Linked DNA regions of Homo sapiens: all the other regions are linked to region 4. The links are contacts of gene promoters, found by promoter capture Hi-C in blood cells and fetal thymus (Javierre and others, 2016). All regions are on one chromosome and are shown on one strand. Each heading gives the region's core, a stretch centred on a gene start or on the middle of the fragment in contact. The rest is flanking DNA. Distances are from core to core; before and after follow the strand shown.

The links. The method cuts DNA at HindIII sites, captures the fragments that hold promoters and counts their contacts. A CHiCAGO score of 5 or more calls a contact.
Region 1: a contact is called between a fragment that was not itself captured here and the fragment with the promoter of ABCA1 in region 4, in 1 of 17 cell types (M0 macrophages). The highest score is 5.8, in M0 macrophages.
Region 2: a contact is called between a fragment that was not itself captured here and the fragment with the promoter of ABCA1 in region 4, in 1 of 17 cell types (M0 macrophages). The highest score is 6.4, in M0 macrophages.
Region 3: a contact is called between a fragment that was not itself captured here and the fragment with the promoter of ABCA1 in region 4, in 1 of 17 cell types (M1 macrophages). The highest score is 5.6, in M1 macrophages.

The regions. Positions count from the first base shown.
Region 1 is chr9:105,478,720-105,482,234 of GRCh38, reverse strand. It overlaps FSD1L (fibronectin type III and SPRY domain containing 1 like), which reads right to left. Exons shown (of 14, transcript NM_001145313.3): 6 at 2,859-2,881. Among named protein-coding and RNA genes, the nearest start is that of FSD1L, 32 kb to the right of the region's middle. The HindIII fragment of the contact is 1,865 bases long and covers 1,185-3,049 here.
Region 2 is chr9:105,458,445-105,461,807 of GRCh38, reverse strand. It overlaps FSD1L (fibronectin type III and SPRY domain containing 1 like), which reads right to left. Exons shown (of 14, transcript NM_001145313.3): 2 at 193-288. Among named protein-coding and RNA genes, the nearest start is that of FSD1L, 12 kb to the right of the region's middle. The HindIII fragment of the contact is 1,507 bases long and covers 688-2,194 here.
Region 3 is chr9:105,509,055-105,512,654 of GRCh38, reverse strand. The region is part of intron 9 of FSD1L (fibronectin type III and SPRY domain containing 1 like); the gene reads right to left. Among named protein-coding and RNA genes, the nearest start is that of FKTN, 47 kb to the left of the region's middle. The HindIII fragment of the contact is 3,339 bases long and covers 566-3,600 here.
Region 4 is chr9:104,926,237-104,929,758 of GRCh38, reverse strand. ABCA1 (ATP binding cassette subfamily A member 1) reads left to right here and starts at 1,604. Exons shown (of 50, transcript NM_005502.4): 1 at 1,604-1,824. It overlaps LOC105376196 (a long non-coding RNA gene), which reads right to left and starts at 2,970. Exons shown (of 3, transcript NR_188620.1): 1 at 1,849-2,970; 2 at 35-251. RefSeq lists silencers at 1,445-1,634, 2,971-3,210 and enhancers at 1,835-1,914, 2,235-2,294. The HindIII fragment of the contact is 9,744 bases long and covers 1-3,522 here.

The DNA.
Region 1 (3,515 bases), core at 868-3,367, 550 kb before region 4:
TCTCTTAATCCTGCTGTTCCTCTGTGTAACTTCTACCATAGCAAATGATAAATGATGAGTTTTCACAGACATTTTCATTTTTTATATTTGATTTCTTGCTCAGATATGTTACACATTCTCCCTTAAAATCCATCTATGCCCTTATAAAAAGATAATCCTAGGGCGGACATGGTGGCTCATATCTGTAACCCCAGCACTTCGGAAGGCTGACGCGAGAGGACAGCTTGAGCCCAGGAGTTTGAGACCAGCCTAGGCAACATGGCGAAACCCCATCTCTACAAAAGATACAAAAAAATTAACGGGGCATGGTGGCACGTGCCTGCAGTCCCAGCTGCTCAGGCGGCAGAGGTGGAAGGGCCCCTTAAGCCAGGGAGGTCCAGGCTGCAGTAAGCTGTGATTGTGCCACTGCACTCCAGCCTGGGTGATGGAGCAAGACCCTGACCCAAAAAAAAAAAAAATCCTTTCTTTGCTTGGTGAAAATAGCTACAGTAATTATTTTATTATGACTACGTTTAAATTATTTTTATATTTTAAATGACAATAATGGAATTCTAAAAGCTCACTTTTGGCGAGTACCAAAAACTACATCAGAGAAACCTGAACATTATAAAGCTAAACATCAAATTTTAAAAATTAAGTTGAAGGGCCGGGCACAGTGGCTCACACCTGTAATCCCAGCACTTTGGGAGGCCGAAGTGGGCAGATCACTTGAGGTCAGGGGTTCGAGACGAGCCTGGCCAACATGGTGAAACCCCATCTCTACAAAACACACACACACACAAATTAGCTGGGTGTGGTGGCAGGTGCCTGTAATCCCAGCTACTTGGGAGGCTGAGGCAGGAGAATCGCTTGAACCCGGGAGGCAGAGGCTGCAGTGAGCCAAGATTGCACCACTGCACTCCAGCCTGGGCAACTGAGCAAGACTCTGTCTCAAAAAAAAAAAAATTAAGTTGAGAATCAGAAATGTTCCTCGGGCAGGAAGTAAAAATTCTGCAGGGGATCACAAAAATGCTATAGGGTTTGAACAAGCAAAAAAAAAAAAAAAAAAAAAGAACCACACACACACACACACACACACACACACACACACACAGAGTTTGCCTGAACCCTAATTCCTGAGATCACCTGGATACTTATGAAATCAAGCCAAGAGGCTGGCTTAGAAGACGCAAAAAACCCAAGCTTCAGTGAAGAATACAGCCATTGAAATTGGTCATGAAATTAAATTCTGATAAACAAATCTGGGCAAAGACAAAGAGTTTAAGGATACAGACAAGATTCTGTGATGCAAAGAGCCATATAGAATCTTGAAAAAAGGACAGATTTTGCAAGGTCATGATTAGGAAGTAACTTCTAATTCAGAAAATTAGGAACTAGAGCAGGATGCAGTGGGATAGGTAGCTAAACAGTAAGTATAATATACCCAGGGAGGAAGATGGATGACTCATAGCAATTTCCAGACACAACCCAAATCTACCTTATCCACAAAACTGACCTATCTAGCATCCATTCCTCACACAGCTAATATTTTTCACCTTCAAACTTTCACAATCATCTTTCTAGATCCAGGATTTATAAGAATGATCCATGTCTTTAGCTACTGCCTGATGTAAAATATACAAAAAATATAAAAATTAATACAGGACCAGGCACAATGGCTCACACCTGTAATCCCAGCACTTTGGGAGGCCAAGTTGGGCGGATAGCTTGAGCTTAGGCATTCCAGACCAGCCTGGGCAAAATAGCAAGACCCTGTTTCTACAAAAAATACAAAAATTAGCTGGGTGTGGTGGCACATGCCTGTAGTCCCACCTATTCAGGAGGATGAGGTGGAGGATCACTTGAGCCCATGAGGCAGAGGTTGCAGTGTGACAAGATCGCACCACTGCACTCCAGCCTGGGTGCTAGAGCAAGACTCTGCCTCAAAAAAAAAAAAAAAAGAGAAACCCAGAAGTAAAACTGTCAGCCAAGATTAACAATAGAGGCACTGTTTTTCACATAATCTATAATGAAAATTTTTGTGAATTATCTGATGAAGAATAATTTAATCTAGGATTTGGAGTGGCACTTTGAAGAGCTGTGCCTTTCAGAGAATCTCATGACCCTCAGATGAAAAAACTTGCTATAATCTCAATACAGACAATACTCAGTGACTAGACAGGCAGATCCAAACTGTTCCTTCTGTGTTAATGCAATCCAAATGTTGCCAGCAACTCCTTTAGCAATCTATGTTCATTACAAGTACTAAATTCCTTTTCTTAAGCCTGGCTCTACCAATAAGAAAGAACTTTTAAACCAAAACCTTTAATAATTTTCTTTAATTTTCTCTTCCCACAGAATATTAACTAGATAGTGGTGGCATTAGAAATAGAAAGAGATGGCACCAGGAACAGGATGGAATGAGAATACAAGGTGTTAAACAGGAGGGCAGTGAAATAGGAGCGCTTTAGTTCTTGAGGACTACTTAAAATGAGTGAGTTCAAAGAAAATAAGACCCACTTACATTTAAATTTAACAACAAAAAACACATTCCAGAAATATATATTTTTAAGTTATTCAAAATAGTTCCCTTTTCATTAGTACAACTAATTAAGAACTGTTCTAAAACTAAAACTAACTATATTTCTACACCAGAAATGAAATTCTTCTGAAGCACATAATTATCCACAACTATGCTTTTAAAAAATTTTATTGATACAATGGTTATTCCAAGAAAATACACAGAGGACATTTTATTTTGTACTTGGTCATTGGGTACTTTTATCTTAACTAACACAATTTTAATTAAAAAACTATTTCTGAATTTCATTTCTGACTTCAATATTTATACTTAAGTAAAAATGTGTTTTATACCATACCTATCCTTGATCTGTCTGGCAGCCTTGGAGCCAATCAGGGAGAAGAGAAAGAAGGCAAGTTAGTGCTTTTCATGCAAGTTTCAATGGCAGTGACATGCAAGAAAAGTTAGGATATAAACCCTGCAACAGATTAGTTCATATTCACCAAAACACAAACTATAGAAAATTTATGTGTATAGTTCACATAAGCTTTCATGTGATGTTAGAATTATAGTAGAAAATCCAGACCCCACAAAAATCACCTTTTAGGAGGAAAATTTAACACTTCGAACAAATTCCAGGTGACTATAAATGTTTTATTCTTACCTTAAGATTATCAAAACACACCTCCACTTTCATTCAGTCTGATACTCATCAACTAGAGCAACCAATCTCCTTCATGGGACAACTTCCTTCATGGTTTTCTTGTACATGTCAAATTTACTCTCTAATTTTTCTTCAGAGATCTCTTTCACTACTTCATAATCGTTGTTCCAAGTTTTCTCTATATGCCTCTATAGGGCAAGGAATTCTCAGAGTTTGCCTGCTAACAAATACAACTAGGCTGCAATTCTATAAACCTTTACTCCAAAGAAAGTTGTAATGGCAGAAATTCAGACACAAAGAGACCAGAGAAATACTTCTAGCAATGGGGTCTTTCTCCATGATGATTTCATA
Region 2 (3,363 bases), core at 192-2,691, 530 kb before region 4:
TTCTGGGCTCCAGCAATCCTCCCACCTCAGCTTCCCAAAGTGTTGGGATTACAGGCATGATCCCTGCTCCCAGCTAAAGCCTACCTTTTTAATGTTCCTGTTTTTTAATGAGTATAGTCAAAGACATCTAAATGCTCTAATTTTGAATCAGATCTTCAAGTTAAAACCTCTGCTCCTTTAAGAGCTACCAACCTGCTGCAAGTTAATAGACTCTGGTCCAATAGTGATGTTAGAGATCAGAAAACAGGCTTTATCAACTGTAACGTTTTCATTCTCCTTAAAGCAGTACTGTCCAATATAAATACAGTAGGAGCCAATAGCAGCCACATCAAAAAAGTAAAGGAAAAACAGGATAAATTAATTTTAATATTTTATTTAATAGATTCAAAATATATTATCATTTCAACATGTAGTCAATATTTAACAATTAATGAGTTTTTCTTTTTTTTTGGTACGGAGTGTTCAAAATTCAGTTTGTATTTTACACTTATGCATATCTCAATTCAAACTGGCCACATTTCAAGTGCTCAAAAACCACATTACGGCTAGAAGCTACCATCCTGGATAATACAGACTTAAGAGGTCTATGTCATCCAAACAGACCATATATTTCTAAGAGTGGAAATAGGGCAGAGATCCTCTATTAATCTTATTAATTTGCAATTAAAAATAAACGACCTAAAAGCTTTCTGAACTTTTTTCTTGGAAGACCAGAATTTCTTTATGTGCTTATGTTATGCCAGATTCTTGAATTATAATAGCTATATGTGGATATAAGTTAAAATGTTACAACCAACTTCCTTTACCAGAATTTCACTCATTTCTCAGTTTTTATTTACATAAATATTAACTCTAGAAGGTGAAAGACATTTTAAAATTACCAACTCTCAAAAGAAATTGGTACATAAGTAACACCACTTCGGGGTCCAATACCATAACAGAAGAAACAAATACACTCCTCTCTCCTGTGAAATTTACACCGTTCACTCATGTTTTGGGTTAGAGAAGACTTCTTGGGATCACAGAAAGTGCAAATGTCCACGTCAAAGTTGGCAGCTAACAAAAACAAGACTGCACCTAAGGACAACTGACATACAGGTTAGACAAATTCAAAGAATCATCAGAATAATGCCTTCCATTTTCTATGATACTATCGCATACCTCCAAAAAAATACCACCCTTAGATTACAGTCAATCTTTTTTTTTTTTTTTTTTTGAGATGGAGTCTCACTCTGTCACCCAGGCTAGAGTGCAGTGGTGCAATCTCGGCTCACTGCAACCTCTGCCTCCTGGGTTCAAGCAATTCTCCTGCCTCAGCCTCTCGAGTAGCTGGGATTACAGGTGCAAGCTACCGTGCCTGGCTAATTTTTTGTATTTTTTGGTAGAGATGGGGTTTCACCATGCTGGCCAGGCTGGTCTCGAACTCCTGACCTTGTGATTCACCCACTTCGGCTTCCCAAGTGCAAGGATTACAGGGATGAGCCACCACTCCCAGCGATTACAGTTAATCTTATCTTTACCATTCCTCTTAAATTCATTCAAAATTCTATTACCACAGATGAAAGACCCTTTTCAACTGTATTGGCCTAAGATGTATTAATAGCCATACTTCTGGAAAGAAACTCTACAATCTGTGTTAAAGCCTTTAGGGGAATGATATCCTATATGAATTGCCTAAGGCTGTAAAAATACTGTACTTCCCCAGAAAGTGGATGAGAAAGAAAGGTCTTTAAAGGCTGATATAGTATTTCTGAGAAACACAGTCTCATTCTTTGAAGAGAGAGCACTCTACAGCTCTTGAATTTAACAAGGAGTTCCAGTACAGCATGAGAGTCTGTAATACACACCTAGATAAAGGGTCCACATTCTGAGAAAAGTTGCTTTACCCTAATGCCAAAACTGCAAAGACTAAAGGCCTAGATTATTTTCAGAGGACGCACTGCAATCTTTAGATGAGGAGGGCTTCAGAGCCTTGGCTACAATACACCACTGAGATGCTATCAGAATGGACAAGCCAGCTGTAGAGGACTCTGGAACCCCAGCATTTAAGATCATCTATATTTTCAAAGCTACCGAATACATTAGTAAACCTGGCTGCAGAAAAAGCAACCATTCAGATCATAAAGAGAAAGTCATAGCAACCAATGTGACCTTGTTAGCTAATACAGATAAAATGCTGCCTCTCTGCTAAGCTTTTCTAAGCTTAAAGGAGGAAGGAAATATTCGCAAAGTTCCCCAAGGGCAGACTACTGAGACAAAGGCTCCAGAAGCTCTGATCCACTTGCCCTTTAATCTGCAACTGCTGTAGAGAGGATGAGCAAATGAAAAAGACTGTAATCCAAGGCTCATATTTAGCATTCTAAAATAGTAAGTTTATCAGGGAGAGGGCCAAGGCTTCAACCTTTCTGACCCTCACAAGAATGGGGACTGGCTGGAACTAAGTGGAAATGGCATAAAGATAAAAAGCACTAAGGAACTTGGTGCTCAGTAGAACTGGAAAACAAGTTACAAGGAATCAGAATATTTAAGACAAAACTACCACCACAGCACCAAAACATATGAAAACTAAAGAAACAGGATTACATGTGCTGAGTTCTGAAACTTGACCCTAGCTTGCATATGTGACATAAAGCTAAAATTTTCTCTATGGTGGTAGGAGTCAAGTAAAAGGTGTATATAAGGATAGTATGTGCCTAATCTAGGAGGTATACAAGGGGAGACTGGCTGAACAGGCATCAAATCCAGCAGTTTTTAAAAAGTGTTTTCTAGATATGGTAGGCAATATGCCAGGGCAGAGAAAGAGAGCAGAAAAGATCTAAAATATATCATAATTCAACGAGTTTTCTACCCCAGTCTATCCCTCCAGGACCTCCAAATTTAATCAAGAGCGAAGACAGAAAGCTAGGCCATCATCACTATCTCCTCTCCTCTAATTTGTGCTCTACGTGAAGTCACAAAGTTCTATAGATTTTACCCCTTAATGGTTCTAGTGATAGCAGCAGGAGGCAGACGTAGTCCTAGGCAGATAGGGGTGGGTCCCTGGTGAAACCTGACCTTCAGGCCAAAGACAGTCTGAAGCCTGAAAACTGGGCTGCCAGTTCCTGATGGAATCCACAACCCTGAATAAGAATTTCCTTTATGCCTTTCAGTCAAACAAATGGTGCTTTTTCCACGCCCACCCATGGACCAATCAGCACATACTTCCTCCTGCCCATGGACCAATCAGCATGCACTTCCCCACTTTGAGCCCATAAAAACCCTGGACTCAGCCATCTATCAGGACTACCCATTTCAGGACTCCTCTCCACTGAGAGCTGTTCTGTCACTCAGTAAAACTCTCCACTGCCTTGCTCACCATCCAGT
Region 3 (3,600 bases), core at 986-3,485, 580 kb before region 4:
TCAATAATCAGGCTATAATTTATAATTCTTATCTGATTTCCCATTATTCTTCTCTATATATCCTATACACCAACCAAATACAATGTACTTGCATGGTCACTGACATTTCTCCTGTTCATTCTACTAAAATCTCAATGAGTACACAGTAACCTAAATTTCCTGTTATTAGGATATCAGTTGACTGTTATGACTAAATAGGAAGGGGAACTGGAAGAATTAAGGAGAAGGATAAAATTACATAGTGTAAAAAATTATAGAACCTGGCATACACATTTTCTCTGATACTCTAATATTTAATAATTTCATACCTACACTGTCAGTTTCAAAGTAAGGCAAACATAGAGAAACTGAGGCCGTGATGGCAGAACAAGGAAACTGGCCCAGCTGATAGATAATTTACATGACGAAGAGTACAGAGGGAAAAGAACCACATAAATTTAAAAAAAAACCATAAAACTATGACTTCCAGATTATTTAATATTTTGAGGAATTAACTATACTTTTCACAAGACTTACTCAGAACTGCTTTAGGAATTTAGGAAATCAGTGAAGCAAGGTATAAGCTTCTTTCCTTGGAAACTGAGGGTAAATCATTAGAATGTACTGATTCATGGCTAATCACACCATTCCTTTTATCTTAAAATATAACTCTCGGAATCTCTATCTTGCAAGGTATCAGCTATTACACAGTTACTAACTAATCTGCCTGTTAGTTCTATTTCCCTCCAAAGGTTCAAACTTCTAGTATATATTAAGAAATACAGTATCCCTTTACAGAACCCTATTTCACTTATGGATATTACTTAATTTAGCTAAGGCTTCAGTGTGTCTGTGAACTATGACTCTCTATAGGTTTATTTTGTTTGATGATACATAACTGTTTACCTAATGAATCAATAATCCTTTTATCCCCTACTGTTCTGTAAAGAGCACTTTAATTTCAACTATGCATTGGAGCTATTGTTCATTGTTTTTTATTTATGAAACAACATTCTGAATACAAATCTACTGACCACAGAGCTTCCAGTAAATGTCATACAGTACAAGGAAGTTCACAGCTTTCAACATCTGCATTTAAACAGAAATGAACTTACAGAAAAAAGAGATAATGCAGCAATCATGCAGCTTTTTAGTAAAAACAGAAATAGAATTCCTTAATAGACAGGTTACCAAAAGGTTAGGATTAAGTAAAACTTATACCCTGCATTTCCAAGAATGAACTGCCTTAATAAAGTTAACATCTATATGTGAGCTACTAGGTAATGCATGTGAGAGCTTCTACATTTTTGAGAAAGAATATTGGATTTAACTCTAAGGTGCCACCAATTCTCAACTGCTTGCTAAAATCCTAAGGCTGTTTTTTTAAAAAAGGAAGAAATCCTAAGGCTGTCCCCTAATGTTTGTTATGCTGGAGAGAAGGGCCACCAGCAATACTGGTGTCAAAGGTGGCAAAAAAAAAAAATAGATAGTACCATTGAAAACCACTTAAGACCATACTTATTAAATACTGCAGCATCCAAACAAAAAGGCATGGATTTCAAGCCTAAGGAGTGTCATTTTCGTATCTCTCTTTCTTTGTGGACACTACCCCTTATGGACCTCAGTTAAGTTATAGAGCTCCTCTAATGTAACAGAGATAATACTCTATAGTTAAAAAAAAAAAAAAGACTAGCCTCAAAAGTGAGGTCCTATCTCTTGTATAAGTCCTATAATATAACTAGATACTGGTTCCCGTATCTTTAATAGTCTGTGAAAACAAAGTACCAAAAATCAGAGTACAGATATGTTTCATATGTTTAACTTGTGCGAGTGGCTGCTTTCTTGGTACTATAAAATTATATCATAGCTGCTATCAATTAAAGTTGGAGAATAATTTGTGATTTAGTAATTTAATATCATTTACCTTCACAAGAAAATAACTAATAATATACTCTAAATATTCTGGTGATAAGAACTTATATTACTCATGACTTCTGAGAATTTCAATGCCAGAAGAAATAGTGCTTCATATGTTGGAGGGCAGAAGTAAACAATGTTCACTATTTTCCATATCAAGAACCTTAAGTGGAAGTATATGAAATTTTGGTAGGCTCAACTACTCAATCTCCACCTTTCTTCCTTTCTCTCCAGTTTTTTGTCCATACCCTAATTTCTACTGGTTGGTTGAAAAAGGCTGCAACAAGCCAAATAAATTGGTAAACAACTGTTCAGTGTGTCATTGGTAAAAATGTGGACTTTTCCTCTGCAGCTCTTACTCTCATTAGTAGCCCCACTAATGCTATGGAATAACCCTAGAAAATCTGTGACTCATGGCCATGTAGGAGTCTAACTTTATTCTGGAACTCCCTGAAGGTCAGAATCACTGTTTTGTGGGTCTCAGAGTTGAGTTTCAGTCTATTCCTACCGCAGAGGGTTTACTCAACAGTGAAGAAGTGCTGAAAAGGCCTAGAATCAACTTAGTTTCTCTCTACAAACCCCATGATTAAGAGTTTGACCAGTAACATCCAATCACTGCTAATAGGAGCAGCCAGCCCAGCTGGAAGAAAACCACAAGCCAGTGATTCATTTTCCTGTATCTATGAAATTTGCATAGAAATTATAATTCACCACATTTAGGTCCAACTTTGGTCATTAAATATGAACAGTAAATGAAAAGAAACAAAAGAAATTTTAAAAATATGATGCTCTTGAGGAAGAATAATAGTAATGAATTTTACTTGATGGGCTAAAAACAGTTCAAGTTATATAGAAAAGATTATCTGCCTACATATGACTATTATTTTAAAATGGTAAAAACCTCTACAGAAACCACAATAACATCTCAGTTTGATAACATGTAATACAGAGTTAACTGCATTCCTTGGCTAAGTTACCTATAGTTCTCAAATAGAAACATCTGCTAATCCAAACAAATTACTTCAAGATAGACTTTATTTCAGACCTTTGTGATGCAAACATTTTTCTGAGTTTGTCTCATCAATAACTTATAGGCCTTATATTTTGTTTTATTATATGATTTTTTTTGTCATCCTCCAAATCCAATCAAATTTCTGGCAGGTAAACCTATTCAAATGCTATATGAACTAGAGGTCAGTGGAATGCCTTAAGTCCCAAGTGCCTACAAGAATGTGTAGAGTCTGGTTCTGGAATTAAACCCAGTCAATAACCATCTCACAACTAGGAAAGTCTCCAGCATTATAACCTTCAAATTGGTAAATATCTAAAAAATCCTCTGTATTCAAGTCTGCTACTCTAGGGAGTTTTCATTAAACCCCAATTGCTTTCAGAGACTAGAAGAACCTAGGTTCCAGGCTCATAGTAAGGGCTGGCACAAAACTCAGAAGTGGATTCTTATTCACACCTTTCCAAACTAGGTCTAGGGATCATGGGAAAGTCATTTAATATATGAAAACTCTATTTTTTCATCTGCAATATGGGTATCAATAATATCTAGCATATTGATCTCTCAAGATGACTTTAATTATCTAATAAAGAATTGAAAGTGTTTTGTAACCATTAATAAACTATATAAACGTTAACTGTTGCAATAAGATACAGGAAAACAGAGAGGACCTGAACTAAACAGATACTTCCCCAATA
Region 4 (3,522 bases), core at 355-2,854:
GCAAAGGGGCCATGCCACCCAGAGTTATGAGTACCTGGGACTCCAGAATTCCTTGCCTGGTGGCCTCCACATGCACTTCCAGGGCCTGCTTGGGCCTCTTCTATGGGTCTGTCCTGAGTGTTGATAGAACCACTGATGTGAGTACCTGGGCTTGAGCCGTGGCCTGGAGATCCTGTTGACTGTAGCATGGAGGGGGCTTGTGCAGCTGAATGTCTGTATGCAGGTGGTGGGAGTTCTGGAATATGATGGAGCTGGAGGTGGGAAGAGAAGTAGGCTTGGGGCAGCTCTCTCATGCCACCTCATTCTGGCCAAAACTCAGGTCAAACTGTGAAGAGTCTAAATGTGAATCTGCCCTTCAAGGTGGCTACAAAGGTATCTTTGTCAAGGTAGGAGACCTTGTGGCCTCCACGTGCACTTCCAGGGCCTGCTTGGGCCTCTTCTACGGGTCTGTCCTGAGTCTTCTATGAATCTGCCCTTCAGGGCAGATTCATATTTAGACTCTTCACAGTTTGACCTGAGTTTTGGCCAGAATAAGGTGACATTTAGTTTGTTGGCTTGATGGATGACTTAAATATTTAGACATATGGTGTGTAGGCCTGCATTCCTACTCTTGCCTTTTTTTTTGCCCCTCCAGTGTTTTGGGTAGTTTTGCTCCCCTACAGCCAAAGGCAAACAGATAAGTTGGAGGTCTGGAGTGGCTACATAATTTTACACGACTGCAATTCTCTGGCTGCACTTCACAAATGTATACAAACTAAATACAAGTCCTGTGTTTTTATCACAGGGAGGCTGATCAATATAATGAAATTAAAAGGGGGCTGGTCCATATTGTTCTGTGTTTTTGTTTGTTTGTTTCTTTTTTTGTTTTTGTGGCCTCCTTCCTCTCAATTTATGAAGAGAAGCAGTAAGATGTTCCTCTCGGGTCCTCTGAGGGACCTGGGGAGCTCAGGCTGGGAATCTCCAAGGCAGTAGGTCGCCTATCAAAAATCAAAGTCCAGGTTTGTGGGGGGAAAACAAAAGCAGCCCATTACCCAGAGGACTGTCCGCCTTCCCCTCACCCCAGCCTAGGCCTTTGAAAGGAAACAAAAGACAAGACAAAATGATTGGCGTCCTGAGGGAGATTCAGCCTAGAGCTCTCTCTCCCCCAATCCCTCCCTCCGGCTGAGGAAACTAACAAAGGAAAAAAAAATTGCGGAAAGCAGGATTTAGAGGAAGCAAATTCCACTGGTGCCCTTGGCTGCCGGGAACGTGGACTAGAGAGTCTGCGGCGCAGCCCCGAGCCCAGCGCTTCCCGCGCGTCTTAGGCCGGCGGGCCCGGGCGGGGGAAGGGGACGCAGACCGCGGACCCTAAGACACCTGCTGTACCCTCCACCCCCACCCCACCCACCTCCCCCCAACTCCCTAGATGTGTCGTGGGCGGCTGAACGTCGCCCGTTTAAGGGGCGGGCCCCGGCTCCACGTGCTTTCTGCTGAGTGACTGAACTACATAAACAGAGGCCGGGAACGGGGCGGGGAGGAGGGAGAGCACAGGCTTTGACCGATAGTAACCTCTGCGCTCGGTGCAGCCGAATCTATAAAAGGAACTAGTCCCGGCAAAAACCCCGTAATTGCGAGCGAGAGTGAGTGGGGCCGGGACCCGCAGAGCCGAGCCGACCCTTCTCTCCCGGGCTGCGGCAGGGCAGGGCGGGGAGCTCCGCGCACCAACAGAGCCGGTTCTCAGGGCGCTTTGCTCCTTGTTTTTTCCCCGGTTCTGTTTTCTCCCCTTCTCCGGAAGGCTTGTCAAGGGGTAGGAGAAAGAGACGCAAACACAAAAGTGGAAAACAGGTAAGAGGCTCTCCAGTGACTTACTTGGGCGTTATTGTTTTGTTTCGAGGCCAAGGAGGCTTCGGGAAGTGCTCGGTTTCGGGGACTTTGATCCGGAGCCCCACATCCCCACCACTTGCAACTCAGATGGGACCGGAGGCGGTGTTAAATGGGGAGACGATGTCCTAGTACGAGCTCTGGTGACCCCAGGACTCTGCGCTGCTGCGCTTGGGGCTTGCCCGACGGTGGAGACCGGGGAGCATCTCTGGGCGTGGAGACCCGGGCGCAGTACCCCGGGCTCAGAGGGGTCGGGGGTTCCCGGGCGTGCTGAGGGCGCTGCTGCCGGGTGGGGAGAGCTGCAGGTCCGGCACCGAGCGCTGCTTTGTTCGGAGGGCCCTGAGCTGGCTAGAAACCCTTCTGGTTGCAGGTCGGCCAGTACCTACGGAGACAAATGCCAGCACTGAGTCTTCACTCGGTTCTTAAGAAGCTGGTCTGTTCTGACCTGGGAATTGGCTATATGCTCCCCGGGACTGGAGCGGCACAGTCCCGGACTGTGAATCCGGGAACTCGAGTTGGAGGTGTCCCAAACGGTCCGTGGTGCTATTGCTCACTAGAGGCCTTGGGTCTTTGTTTGACCTGAGGGGTAGGGAGGTCCTGCCTACAGTCTCCGTGCGCTCAGCTGAGCTGGTGTCCCTGGCGCAGAGCGCGGACGAGTTTTGTTTCCTTTTCTTTTTCTTTTTTTTCTTTCCTTTAAGTCTCGGTCTGTCGCCCAGGCTGGAGTGCAATGGAACGATCTCCGCTCACTGCAACCTCCGCCTCCCGGGTTCAAGCGATTCTCCTGCCTCAGCCTCCTGAGTAGCTGGGATTACAGGCGCGTCACCACATCCAGCTAATTTTTGTATTTTTAGTAGAGACGGGGTTTCAACTTGTTGGCCAGGCTGGTCTCGAACCCTCGACCTCAGGTGATCCACCGGCCTCGGCCTCCCCAAGTGCTGGGATTATAGGCGTGAGCCACCGCGCGCGGCCGAGTTTTGTTTCTTTTAAAAACAAGACTTAGGAGAGCCTGCGGAGACCCGGAGGTGGGGTGCCCAATCCTCCCTCTCCCACGTTCCCTGCAGCCCCATCTTCCAGACCGTTGCTGCTGGTCTCTCGGGGCAGCTTCTGCCTGGGCGCAGATGGGGAAGCTGGGCCGAGGTGGTGCCGTGGAATGACCGGGAGTAACCCCGGCGGGCGGCGCAGAACTCGGAGCTCCGCCGCGGGGCTGGGCTGGGCTCTGCCGTGAGGGTGGGGGTGCTGGGCGCGCGGGCTGCGGTGGCCCCCGGAGACTGGCCCGCAGCGCCTCCTGGCCGGAGGACCTAGGAATCGGCCGGCTCTACTAGGTGTCTTTGCTCGCGGTTCCGACTGTGAATCCGGTGAAGACCGGTGGTTGCAGACGGGGAGGAACTATGAGGTTGAGGCGAAAGCCCGTTTTGTTTTTTTTTTTTTGTTTTTTTGGTTTTTTTTTTTGTTAGCGTGTTTGCCAACTCCCAGGCCATTGGTAAAGCAGGAAGGTTCTTGGGGCGGCGGACGGTGCCAGGGTTATGTGTAGGTGCCTCTTTAGGTATATCTTTTATCAAAAAGAAGCAAAGAAATAAGATTAAAAATAAACAAAGAAAAAAGTTGTCTGGCACTGGCAGTAATTGGCCTGCCTTTGCAGCACTGATACCATTAGCTTTTAAA